Linked DNA regions of Homo sapiens: regions 1 and 3 are each linked to region 2. The links are contacts of gene promoters, found by promoter capture Hi-C in blood cells and fetal thymus (Javierre and others, 2016). All regions are on one chromosome and are shown on one strand. The core of a region is centred on a gene start or on the middle of the fragment in contact, and the rest is flanking DNA. Distances in the headings are between cores, read along the strand shown. Region 1 holds the start of MALINC1 (mitosis associated long intergenic non-coding RNA 1). Region 2 holds the start of ANKHD1 (ankyrin repeat and KH domain containing 1). Region 3 holds the start of IGIP (IgA inducing protein).

Region 1 (4,170 bases), core at 1,474-3,973, 290 kb after region 2:
GGCAATCTGGGAGAAATGAATATAAACTTCCAGAAGTCTTAAAACAAAAAGTTTAAACTTTAAATAAAACTTCACAGTTATATTTGCATTGTAACACTGAAAAGTCATTAGAAAATAAGTGGATTTTAAGACTTCTAACCATTTGTTAATAATCTAAACAATATACTAACTTGGTGAATGAAGTCTGTTCTAGTATCCAGCTGTTTGAATTTGTTAATGTAAAACAAATAGTTGTAAAACTAAATGTATAATTTCATTAGAATGTAGGAAAGACAAAGGGAAAACGAAATATACAGCAAATTAATATGCAGCAAAAATCCATGTTAATGAAAAACATCAAAAAGTAAACATTTCCTTTCTCCTCACAATATGCTTACAAAGACATAATGTCTCTAGATTTCTTGAGCCCTTTTATTATTAATACAACAGACACATTTTAAAGAGAATAGAGACTGCTTTATTTTTAATCCCACTGTCTCTATGTATTTAACAAACTCTTACCAACAAAAAATTGTGCGCAAAGAAATACACATTAGGCAGAACAAAAAAGAAAAAAGCTTTAATTTTCTTCAGCCTGACTACAGGTGATTCTGAAATAATCTAATTCAGTTTTGGTTTTATAAAGTAAAAATCAACACACATTTATAAAATAGACTTGGAAAGAGGTTGTCTACCTCTGGGTAGTAAACCCTTCTGATTATAGAGTTCCTAATAGAAACAATATGTTGATTAATATTTTACAAAATCACAAATTTCCAAAATAAAGAACATTAGAGCTTGTGTTTTCAAGTGATACTTAGATTAAATACCAGTCTTAAACCAGACAACTATCTTCAATACCCAAATCATTAAAACTAACTGGGATGTTGTACTGTAAATGTTCAAAGTGGAGGAATTAGCCATTTCTTCTCATGACTGTCTACCAAAAAAATTGAGAAACTCTCAAATAAATCTTAACATTTAACAACAACAATGACTAATAGTAACAGCATTTCCCAGATCGTTCTTTAAAAGCGTATTCCTTTTCCATAGCTCACTTAATCTTGAAAATCATGCCTCTTCAATGCTATTTTAATGTTTCGGATTAAAGATATGAAGTAAACATTTAATATATGAAGAGAACAATCCACTTGATAAAAATCCTCGCATTTCCAAAATGTTTTCATTTTAAGCATTTGCAGAAGTTAAATAAATGTAGCAGACATTCTAAATTCGATAAAAAATTCAGAGAACCCGACATTTTATGTACCCCAAAGGTCCAAACAGAACCGATGTAAATGTCAATAGCTGTCTCCCTTCCGGCTGATACTTAAATGGTTTTACTAGTACTCAAAGCAATGAAATCAGCAACTCTCTCTCCACACTCTAGTCAACACTCCAATTTCCAAAGCCGCAATTCGCAAACGTCAGTTGGGCGGGGGCGGTGGGGGATCTTGAAGTAATCCAAAAATTTCCTTTCCCCTTTGACAGTCCACCAAAAGATGTCAAACCAAATCCAGCCTATTGTAAAGCTCTGGGACCTCCCTTCCAAGGACACCGAACACAAGCTTAGACACCGCTGCGAAAAGCTGTCCAAAAGCGCCTGGCCGGACAGAAATGTAAGGAGCCCAGGCCAAAACGAATTAGAACCCCCAACAGAGGGTCCCGCAGACACCGCGGAAAAGAAGGTGGCATTTATTCCGGGGTAGACAGCTACGAACCAGTTACCCCAGCCAGTCTCTGGGGGCTCTCCAACCCAAGTTCAGGTTTATGGCAGATATATTGGTTGGGTGCCTTCCCCTACAAACATCACAGCCCGCCTCCGGGGCCCACCGCCGCTCACAGAGAAGACCCCTCAGCTTCACATCCGTTCCTTTTGCCCTCGGACAAAGGCAGAGGAGCTGTGGAGCTGACCCAGCGCTGTGGGGCAGTAAAAATGCCTTGTTCGGGCCACCCATCTTTGGGCCCGGCTTCATCTGCGATGTCAGCACCAAAGGTTTTTTTTTTTTTTTTCCTGGTTTTGTTTTGTTTTTACAACGCATCCTGGGCGGGTGTATGCATTTGGTGGTAGTGGGGTGGGGGGAACCGAACAGAGGAGGGGTTGGCAGTGAAGCCTGGGTTATAGAACTCTCCTTCCTCTCCCTCCTTCCAGGGTTGCCGTGCAGGGAGTGTCAGCCACGTCTAGCGCACAGTCCCAGGCCCCAGGGCGAAGGCGGCCAGGGGAAATGGGGCTCAGGGATTGCTAAGCAAACGCATCACTGGTGGTCTCCAGCGCCTGCGGAGGTAGGATCGCCTCTTTTCTTAAGGGGCGTGTTATTTTGTTCTCTTTTGAAAGTAGGAGGGGGTTCATTCGTTTCTCGCTGCGGGGGGTGGGAGAGAACGTTGCTGCACCGCCTGGGTCTCCAAGAGGGAGGGTGCGGGGATGTCTGCAATGGTACTATAATTATTCCTGGGCTGAGAGAGCAAGTAAAGGGGACGGGGCGAGCGTCACCTGGAGCTGTGGCAGTGGCAGCAGGGAAGGTCGCGAGGGGCTTACCCGGGCGGGCGGGCGCTGTCCTGCCGCAGGTGAGGGAGGGCGCAGGCTGGCGGGAGGGAGGGCGCGCGCGAGACAGGCGCGAGGAAGGGGGGAGGGGAGGAGGGCGCGCGCGCGCACACCTGTCCTGGACAGCGGCGCTAGCCGAGCTGCGCCTCACTTAGGCTCTGCGGGCTGAGGAGGAAGGAGGGCGGGCTGGCGGGCGGGGGCGGGACGCCGAGGGGAGGAGGAGGAGGCGGCTCGGATGGCTGGCTCGGCTCTCGCTCGCTCTCCCTCCCATGGGCAAGTCCGGCTCACACCCTGCTTCTCCCGCTCACTCACAGCCCCCTTGGCTCTCCCTCCTCCTCCTCCTTCCCCTGCGGGATCCGCTCGCCGCCGCCGCCGCCGCCGCAGACGGCAAGTCGTGGCAGCCAGACGTCGGCGCGTAACCCGGCGCTCCGTGCGTGACTCCAGGCGACGTCAGCGCGCGCTCCGCGTTCCCCACCCCTCCTCCCAACTCCGTGGCTCGCGCCCTTCGCTCTCGCGTCCCTCCGTTTTAGCTGCCGCCGCGGCGGCCGCCGAGCGCGCTCTTTCCGCCCCCTTCTCGCGCGTGAGCGCGCCCTATCGGCTCCTGGCGCGTCAACATTCCGCGGGCCAGGCCTTGGGGCGCGTCTGAGGAGGGGGATGTCTGTGGCCTCTCCGCCCACACTTCCTCCACCCACCGCCCACAGCGCCCCAGAAGGACCTATTACTCGTTTGGCTTCTGAAGGCCGAAGCCAGGCTCTGGCGGGGATAGAACCCTGAAGGGCCTGCGCCAGCTCCAACTTAGGGCCCTGTGCGTCGTTGCGACTTCTGCTACCACCCTATCACGCGGCACCCCCGCCCCAACTCCGCCCGGGTCTCTGAAGAGGCAATAGGCCTTTCATCTCCGGGGAAAGTCTCACCTTGGCCCTCAGACACCCGCCAAGAGGGGTCGGAAGGACAGAATTAGCATAGAGAAGAGTGGCTAGAGCACTTTTCAGGCTCTGGCCCCAGGAATCCTTGACAGGAAGCGTGGGGTTGCTGCCCAGCCTCCCACGCAGTGTAATATGTTGAAGCCGGGCCCCTTTGAGGGAATGCGACTTCCTTGGGCCGAGGGGGAAAGGGTAAAAGTTAATTTTCATAAAATGCTATGCAAGGGCTAAATGTGAAATTATAAAATGTCCTTTAAGACAGTCTTCTTGAAATCGTATCAAGTTTGACAAGATTTTTGGTGCACGGTAACGCTTTTGCTCGCTTTCTACGCTGTCACGTCTCCATCCTGCAACACTGAATACGTAGATGGAACGTGGATCAGCTAATAACTGCAGCAAAATAAAAACTGCATTTATCATCTTTATCATTATTTAAATAGACCTCCGAGAAGTCAAACTGTGATTTAGGAAAACTTAATCATTGCCTCAACCTATTTAACTATTTTGTTTTGAAGTTACTTTGCAAATATACCACAAAATCCCTCTTTGTTAGGCAGTGGTAGACTTTTAAACTCACTTGTTAGAGAATCTTTCCCAGAAGCATATCTAGTTGAGCCTGCGAGGCAAGTAGGACTAAGGTATAATTACTCCCATTTTACAGATGAAAATTTAGTTATCAAAATGTAAGTCAGTTGTTCAGCATTGTGAGGAGTCTATCACTGATAA
Region 2 (4,406 bases), core at 1,085-3,584:
CCTTCCACAAGACCAAGAGCAGGGATACTCCAGAGTCTCTCCCCATAACTGCCTACTCAAATAAAACATTTCTCTCACCTTGGCTTAGAAGTTATTTCCCTTACCGTGAAATTCAAAGACGTAGACATTCAAGGGACTACCCGCCTTATAACCCACACACTTTTTTTTCCAAAGCAAAATGTTAGGGTCAGAATGTACTAAGGTTTTAAATATTAAATAAAACCCTGTTCAGACCTAGAATGATAAGACAGTATACTAACTGCAGTCTGTAACCCACAAATAATTTCTCCTTATTCCTCTCAAATCCAAGAGCCGGGATTGTTAGTACACACAGAGAAATTCCTGTACTTTAACACCAAGACCAGAGGTTAAAATAACTGGTCACAGGTGACAACTCAGGCACCTCAGAACCAAAATAGAAGAAATACTCTGAGCACTTAAAACAATCACGGTACAGTACTCTACGCAAGCCACAGTCAACAGAAAAAAGTATACACATAAAATACCGCCCCTTGGGATCACAAGGTCAGGAGATCGAGACCATCCTGGACATGGTGAAACCCTGTCTTTACTAAAAAATACAAAATATTAGCCGGGAGTGGTGGCACGCGCCTGTAGTCCCAGCTACTCAGGAGGCTAAGGCAGGGGAATCGCTTGAACCCAGGAGGCGGAGGTTGCAGTGTGCCGAGATCGCGCCACTGCACTCCAGCCTGGCGACAGAGCGAAACTCCATCTCAAAAAACAAAAACAAAACCCGCCCCTTTTTCCCCAGAACCCAAAAGAAGTTAATGCCTACCATCCCAGGTTGCTCAGACCTAAAAATGTGTACACATTAGAGTACACACAGAAGAGTTAAAGAAATGAAGGACTTCACTGCAAAGGCAGAGTGAAGGTGTCCAGCCGGGCACGGTGGCTCATACCTGTAATCCCAGCACTTTGGGAGGCCGAGGCGGGCGGATCACCTGAGGTCAGGAGTTCGAGACCAGCCTGACCAACATGGTGAAACCCCGTATCTAATAAAAATACAAAATTAGTCGGGCGTGGTGGCGCACGCCTGTAATCCCAGCTACTCGGGAGGCTGAGGCAGGAGAATCGCTTGAACCCGGGAGGCGGAGGTTGCAGTGAGCTGAGATCACGTGTATTCTAGCGTGGACAACAAGAGCGAAACTCCATCTCAAAAAAAAAAAAAAAAAAAAAAAAAAGAAGAGGTTTCCACAGGTTGCCCCACTTTCTCCAAGCCTAAAACCTCCGAGTTCAGCTACCCAGCTATTCCGAAGCTCAGGGATGCCCTGGAACTTCCTTTTCCTGTCTAACTTCACAAAAGGTCCCAGAAGGAGGAGTCACGTGATTTTTCAGGGTAAAAGCCGAGAGATCCCTAATACTCAAACCTGTCTCAAACTGAAGAGGGAGAATAAGAACCGTCCTTAAGCACACAGGTAAGACACACACAAGGCAGAAGGCAAATAAACGTATCCCTCAACTCTGAGGAGAGGCAAAGAAGAGAAACGATCTTTGCACCAGCTCTGTCTCTGTCTCTGTTTGTCTCTCTCAGTACCAAGGGCAGGGACTCTGGCAAGACCCCGCCCCCCACCCCCAACTCCAAAGCAGGGTGGGCGGGAGGCAGCCTGAGGAGTCCCTGTTCCCGCGCGAAGCTCAGAGACCAAAGGACTCCCTATTGTGGGTCTACGAATGGTGACGGGAACCTGTCCCGCTCGAGCTAAAGAGTAAGCCGAGGGCTCACTAGGCCCTCACCGCGGCCACCGCCGCCATGGAGCCGACCGCTGTCACAGAAGGGCTCCACCAGGGAAGCGGGAGGATGGCCCCGGCCCAGAGCCTACCCAAAGAGAATTCACGCCTCACAATGTGTGGGAGGCGAGGGTCCCGGAGCCTTACCTCGGACACTTCGTCCTCGTCACTGCCAGAGGCACCACCTCCACCCCCGGTCCTCAGCACGGCAGCCGCCAACTTGAAATCCAGCGCCGCGTCCCCTCCGCCCGTACCGCTGCCGCTGCCGCCGCCGCCGCTGCTGCCGACTCCCGACGCTGGCCCGGCCTCCCCAAAGAGCCTCACGGTGCGGATCCCCAGACCGACCCCTCCCGGCGGAGGCGGCTCCGAGGCCCCAGCTGGGGCGGATCGCGGAGCCACAGAGTCCAGGTCCTCCTCAAAGGAGGTGCCGCCGCCTCCGCTATCAGTCAGCATTGTTCGCACCCGGAGCCGGAGACGGTGCCGACCCACTCGCGGTCACCGCCGCCGCTGATCTCGGGAACGAGAAGAGCAGCAAGAGGAAGAAGCGTCTCCTTTCCCCCGTCCCAGCAGCGCCACTAACTTCTCACTGCCTAACCTGCTGCCTCCCGCCCCCTCGACTCGCCACTGGCTGCAATACCCTGGCGGCTGCAGATCATTGGCCAAAGTGACCCGTCGCTCAGGCTCTTCGTCACGCGCCGCTCGCTGGCTCGCAGCCGCCAAGCTGCGTTGACCCGCGCAGGCCTAGGCGGTTGCGAACACCCGCCTCCCACTCTTCACCAGCTGACTTCCGCTCTTTTCCTATGTCTATTGGCCAACCCGCCTGACTATCGCGTCACGACCTTAAAGTGGATTAGTTGGCCTTGTGGTCAGTCATAGTGACCCCGAACAATGGGAGAATTCATTGGCGCCATAAAGTGTCGGTCACTTTGTCGCGGGACGTCGCGTGGTACAATTGGCCTGTGGGAGTACCATTGATCCCGCCCTCATCTGAGGTGACGGGAAAGGGCCGGGAAATTTCCACTTCTGAATAAAATGACTGCTGAAGTGATGACCCGCAAGAATTGGTCAAATTTGGAGTAGACTTCACCCTGCGCTTGGTGAAACTTCTACGTCAAGGATGCAAGAGGCGCCGAAGTAACGCAGCTCCCACCTGTCGCTCTCCGCTGGGCGCCGAGACTATGGCCGGAGAATAGCTGCACCGGGATTGGAGAAAGGAAGCCATCAGTCTTAGGAAGGCTCCACCTTCCTGCCATTGCCTGGTTGGAGGAGCGTAGCGTCAGTCACTAGAGCAGTCACCACCTCTGGGACAGGTGAAGATGTGTAACCTATTTGCCGGGGGCTATTTGGGAGGGAATAGAGGACGGGGAGCGATGAGGGGACAGTCGAGGGGCAAGGCCGATCTCGCTTCGCGCCTCCCGCCTTTCTGAGTTGAGCCTAGCGCGCGGGTCTGAGGGACATCCGGGGAGCTGCTTGGGATGGCCGCCTTGGGGAGACTCGACCCGCCCGCCAGGACCCGGCCGCGCGCCGCAGTTCGGGCGCCTTCGGGCAGGATCGCCCAGCGGGGCCGCGTTCTCCTGCTTGCGGACGGCTGCGGGCCTGAGGGCTGGACAGCGCCATGCCTCAGTACCGGGAACTGTCCCACGTAGGAAGGTGGGAATGCCGCGAACGGCGTGCGGAATCCGACCTCAAGGTGGAACGGGGTGGTGAAGAGTGCATGCTCCGAGGCAGTTTCGAGTTCTGGTGCTGCCACTTACTTGCTGCCTGACTTCGGCGCGTTTGCTGTTTCATTTTTGTGACTTTCAACTCGCTCCTCTGTGAAATGGGAGTAATATTAGTACCTTCCTCATTGGGTTGTTGTTATGAATAAATTAGATGATAATATAGCGCTTAGCAAAGTCCCAAACTTACAGGAAAGACTCATTTTTGCTAGTTATTGTCTCCTCTTCCTTCAGGAACTCTCTGCTCGCCCCTGGGTCCTGCCAGCCCAACTAATTCTAGTTCTAATCAGATCTGTGTGGTGCAAAACAAGGCTAGCTGTGGTGGTCTTCCCTCCTCTAAGGAGATCTCTTCCTCCCTATATGCATCTCTCTATCTCTGTCTTTATCTTGTCAGTAAAGAGGGGGGTTAAAAATATTCAGATTCTATAGCGGGCGCCGTGGCTCACGCCTGTAATCCCAACACTATGGGATGTTGAGGCGGGCGGATCATTTGAACCCAGTAGTTCGAGCCCAGCCTAGGCAACATGGTGAAATCCCGTCTTTACCAAAAATACAAAAATTGGGCTCGGCGCGGTGACTCACGCCTGTTAATCCCAGCACTTTGGGAGGCCTAGGTGGGCGGATCATTTGAGGTTAGGAGTTCTAGACCAGCCTGGCCAACATGGCGAAACCCCGTCTATACTAAAAATACAAAAATTAGCCAGATGTGATGGTGCGTGCCTGTAATCCCAGCTACTCGGGAGGCTGAGGCAGGAGAATCACTTGAACCCAGGAGGCGAAGTTTGCAGTGAGCCAAGATCGTGCCACTGCACTCCAGGTTAGGCGACAGAGCAACACATCGTCTCAAAAAAAAAAAAAAAATTAGCCGAGCATGGTGGTGCATGCCTGTAATTCCAGCTACTCAGGAGGCTGAGGTGGGAGGGATCCCCTGAGCCTGGGAGA
Region 3 (4,524 bases), core at 770-3,269, 280 kb after region 2:
TATATTTCAATGAAAAGAATTGTCTTCTTTATACTTTATTTGTTTTCCCATAAGGAAACATTAATGTTTACATTCTTTAATAAAGTTAATCTTACATCAGAATATAACTTAATACTGTCAGCAACAGGGACCACACACAGTAAATAAGAAGCACATTTAAAATAAGTCTGATTTCACATAGATTAACATTTGTTGGTTAATAAAATATCGACAGTATTACAATCTTACAATATTTACAGTAAGAAAAATCTAGAGTAATATATACCTTTCACAGCAGGATTCCTTTTTTTAAAATTTCTTCCAGTTTGGGATTGTGTATACACAAAAAGCTCAAAATAAAGCAACTCTGCAATATAATCTTAAAATAATGGCTACTGGGGGAAATTCTATCACAACCATTGAAAATAATGGTGACTTCTCACGGAGTCTGTGGCATCTGAGAACCCAGTTAATTAACCAAAGTCTTGCTCATATTAGCCTCAGTTACCCAGATTAAAGCAGAACTCCGGCCTTCCCTGACTGCTGAAAACCCAACAGATTTTCTCAACATGCTATAAGGAAAGAGGAAAAATTGGTTTCAGCTCACACCTCATGGCTGGAAGCCTCTGGAAGCCTCCAGCCAGTGCACACTCCCCAACTTATGCTAAAAGAGGGCCAATTTCATCCCCACAGCATCACAAGAGTCCACCCTCCAACCACACAGTGCTCTGACACCAAGCTCACCCATTCCTCAACTCTTGTGCCTTAGGATAACACATGAACTTAGCCCACATAATACACACCAGCGTCTTAGAGACTTGAGACCAGGGCAAAGAAACAGACTAGTGTAGTTTGCACTGAGATCAGTAAGAAAAATGGGAAGTGATGCACATTTCCAATTAGAATGACAAGAAGAAGACCCACATCCCTAAACTGGAATTTGGCCAGGGCATCAGAGTTAGCACCCCCTCTCTGAGTACCGCTAGCGATTAGGATGTGTGCTCTGGGCCTCCTCTAAAAGAGAGCATCTACAGTAAGTAACACAGTATGGGACATTAGTTCAGTGACGACTGCCAAGAAAGCAGATACAATTCTTGAATCTGGGGCTGTCTACGGCACCTGAGGTCAATCATCCAAGCTGTGACCTGTCCCAACCCTGCTTACTTTAAGATATCTGATGGGCACAGAGCACTCAGGGATATGGCTGCTGGCTACTTTGGACTCTAGATCTCACAGGTAATCAACAGGTATCTGGGATTGAATTAGCAAACTGTACCATAGCTCCTTAAACAGACATTGTCAAGTCTGAAATCATGTCAAGCATGAATCTTCACTGTCAGGTCAGTAATCAAAGTGGGAGTCTTCCCACATCAGCCAAGGTTATTTTGTCAGAACCTTAGAGGAGTTGGACAGTTTTTCATGTTGCAAGTGATTGGTTTACTTATTTCAGTCAAGCTGGATTGGCAAACCAGACTGATTTATTTAGTGAGCTTTGTTTTTTTGATTCTTATGTGTGTGCTAACCCAAAGCTGTTGTATTTGGGCTAAATACACTGACAGAGAAAATTCAAACGACAAAAGTTTTCAGCAAACTTCTGTGGCATTTTTTCTTTTTGGAAGTAAATGCAAGATCTAAAGGTATTTCTACCCAACAACGTCTGTTTAAGTGTTTAATGTTATTTCCTTTTTGGTCCTATACAGAATGCTATGACTTCTATATAGGTCTGAATGCTGCTCCATGTAGATTCCTTCTGTATATCTAAAAATATATACTTTTCAGTAGTTCAATACATGGTTAATCTTCCCACAGAGGAAGATTTTTGTAATCACATGTTGCAAAGTAGAAAACATCTCCTTTCTAAGAAAGGAAATATACTTTCCTATTGTACACTTTTGAATAAGCCCAAAGGCATGCACCAAAAATCATTAATAAAACTAATACATGCAATAAAATGGTGTAGAGTTAGACTTAAAGTGCTGCTTCTCAATTTTTTTTAATTTGAAGAAGACATTTTGTCAGTTGTAGACTCAAAAATCTTTCCCCCACCCACCCTCCCCACCCCATGGCATTAAGAGAGAAAAGTAAAAAGTATGCATAAATCTTTTAACTATGCTTTACATGGGGGAAAGAACAGATGTATCAACTATCCTATATATCAACTGGATTCCCAGTTTTAAATAAAACCAATATTTACTGGTAAAAATTGTCAAAGCGAATACACGCAAACAAATGTTACTAGTAAATAAATGTTCTACATAGAGAATAATTTACTTTGGTTTTATGCGCCTTCTCAAAAATAACACTAGTGTCCCAACGTCACCAAACTGATGTGTTCCAGCAAAGTTGTAAGGCAAATCTTTTTTTCCCTAGTGACATCTTGTTTCCCAACAGACAAAACTAAAATCTTTTGGTGAGGAAGGGGTTAAGATAATGGCTAACCCCTTGGCATCCTGAGCATTGTGGTTTATCAAACTCTACCCTGCTAGAAATTGTCAGGCACCCTGACCCCTGCCTTGAACCAGGAAGGCTCCCATGTCTAGAGATGCCCTGACTCCTTATAAATAGCTTTCAGAACTTTGCTTTTTTCCCTTCTCTCTGGTTGTTATAATGTCTAACGAAGCTGGTTGCAATGTCACATTTTGCTAGTAGGGGCCACCATCTAACAATAATTCCAATATGAAAGGTTTTAAGCCAATAGTTGGTTCCTAATTTTATCAACGATTTGCACTAAAATTCTCTACAATTTACTTAGAGCAGAGATCTTTAACTTGGGTTTCAGAAGATGTGTGATGCCCCTGAAGTTGTATGCAAAATTATCCAGGGATGGGCATTTTTTTTTTCTTGGGTAGAGGATCCATCACACTGTCATCAGATTATCAAAGATATCTGTGACCCCCAAAAAGGGTTATAGGGACTTAGAGGGATACCCGTAATTCATTTTATACCAGGACTGGGAAATGGGGGCAGAAAACTAAAAATGGCCTCGAAAAAGGCCAGGGACAAATTGCTGATCTTTTCCCTTTATTCACATTGGGAAAATAAGTGCTTCAAACTGGAAAAATCATTAATTAAGCTGGTTAAACTCCATTAAAAAATAATCAAATCGCTTTCTAAATTTTTTTCATTTTCGATATGTGGTAAATTTTGTCTCCAAGAAAAGGTTTGGAGACTGAATTTTTCTCTTTTCCTAAAGGAAATTCATAGATAGAATGCTGAATATCATCCACATTTAAAGATTTGACAACATAAAAGTTAGATAACTCTTAATGATGTGAATCTTTAACTTATGATTTTGAGTAAAGGATTATCTAGAATCAAATATACACTTATTAATCTTCATTTCCCAAAATTGGTCCATATTTAGACAACTACCTGGCACAATTTCACTAGATAAACCTAAAATCTGAACAATGGAAGTTAAACTTCTACCCAAAGTAAAAACAAAGCCATAAGATTCCACAATTGAATTGGCCACAAACATTCACACTATGTTATAAAGGACTTTCTCATTTCAAATACATCACTGAATGTTCAACAGAATTTGCAAACATAAGATCCAGAATGACTAGCAAAACATGCTAAGAGCATGTCAAAAAGTAAAACACCACCTCTCCCCCCCCAATCTGGAAACACACTCAGGCATTCCAAAAATAAACCAGATCTGAAAAGAGGCCTCTCACTTGGTTTTAAGTATGAGGTGTGTACAAAGCTATGGGAAAGGGAATATAAAATGAAATAACCAAATAACTTACAAAAAATAATTTTAGCCAAAAACACATCTCTCTGTTCCATTGATAAAACTATCAATTTTTAAATTTTTTTGCAATTCTGAACACTGTGTTGCATAATATCACCAAGACAAAAAATATGTTCACAGGTACACTTTTTGTTATTTTCTTTCTAGAGCACATCTTTGAGGTCATAAGACCGCATCTGGTTAAAATAAAGTCTCTTGCCCTTGCTTCCCTTCCCCCTCAAAGTGATTCAACCCTGAATTCCAAAAAGGAATATTCAATATAACAACTTGAAAACCAGTTGTAACACTTAGACCATAAGGAAACTATATGAACATTATGGAAAACTACATGAAAGAGGGAGCTGCCACTTGCCACCCACTTCACTTCCAGCTTTTTAAGCATGTACCCAGCTAGACTCCTATCTCACTGACTTCAGTGAAACAAACTAACACACCAAATCTAGGCCATCTCAGGCTGGAAGTTAAAACTCGAAGACATCATTTCATATACACATACATATATATTCCCTATCCTAAGCTTTAACTTTGTCTATTTAAACAGTTTAATAAAGCTCACATTTACAAAGGATTTTATTGGCAAATAAAGGCCCATATTAAAAATTTTATCAGAACAAATTTTTGTTTTATACAGCTAACATTAAGAAATATTTTCTTGGCCTTATAAAATATTTTTAATTGCATATAATTTTTGCTTTGGGTGGAATATTGAAAACACAATTCTGCAAGAAATTAGAAAAGACTAGAAACAAAAGTGAAAGTGACTAGCCTTAACTTTCAAAAAATCAAGT

Evidence for each region. The method cuts DNA at HindIII sites, captures the fragments that hold promoters and counts their contacts. A CHiCAGO score of 5 or more calls a contact.
Region 1: the fragment with the promoter of MALINC1 here is called in contact with the fragment with the promoter of ANKHD1 in region 2 in 7 of 17 cell types (non-activated CD4 T cells, fetal thymus, neutrophils and 4 more); the score reaches 9.3 in non-activated CD4 T cells.
Region 3: a contact is called between the fragment with the promoter of IGIP here and the fragment with the promoter of ANKHD1 in region 2, in 1 of 17 cell types (M0 macrophages). The highest score is 5.5, in M0 macrophages.

The regions. Positions count from the first base shown.
Region 1 is chr5:140,106,565-140,110,734 of GRCh38, reverse strand. MALINC1 (mitosis associated long intergenic non-coding RNA 1) reads left to right here and starts at 2,723. Exons shown (of 4, transcript NR_102741.1): 1 at 2,723-3,326. It overlaps LOC124900193, which reads left to right and starts at 1,466. Exons shown (of 4, transcript XM_047417990.1): 1 at 1,466-2,951. The coding sequence starts at 1,750. The coding sequence ends at 2,676. RefSeq lists enhancers at 1,912-2,413, 3,524-3,623 and silencers at 2,564-2,823, 2,834-2,893, 2,924-2,993. The HindIII fragment of the contact is 3,432 bases long and covers 1,550-4,170 here.
Region 2 is chr5:140,399,761-140,404,166 of GRCh38, reverse strand. It overlaps ANKHD1 (ankyrin repeat and KH domain containing 1), which reads right to left and starts at 2,334. Exons shown (of 34, transcript NM_017747.3): 1 at 1,894-2,334. The coding sequence starts at 2,199. ANKHD1-EIF4EBP3 (ANKHD1-EIF4EBP3 readthrough) reads right to left here and starts at 2,334. Exons shown (of 36, transcript NM_020690.6): 1 at 1,894-2,334. The coding sequence starts at 2,199. It overlaps ANKHD1-DT (ANKHD1 divergent transcript), which reads left to right and starts at 2,766. Exons shown (of 2, transcript NR_186045.1): 1 at 2,766-3,056. RefSeq lists enhancers at 2,131-3,020, 3,211-3,260, 3,351-3,500, 3,591-3,740. The HindIII fragment of the contact is 10,874 bases long and covers 1-4,406 here.
Region 3 is chr5:140,123,432-140,127,955 of GRCh38, reverse strand. It overlaps IGIP (IgA inducing protein), which reads right to left and starts at 2,019. Exons shown (of 1, transcript NM_001007189.2): 1 at 1-2,019. It overlaps PURA (purine rich element binding protein A), which reads right to left. Exons shown (of 1, transcript NM_005859.5): 1 at 2,337-4,524. The HindIII fragment of the contact is 9,298 bases long and covers 1-4,255 here.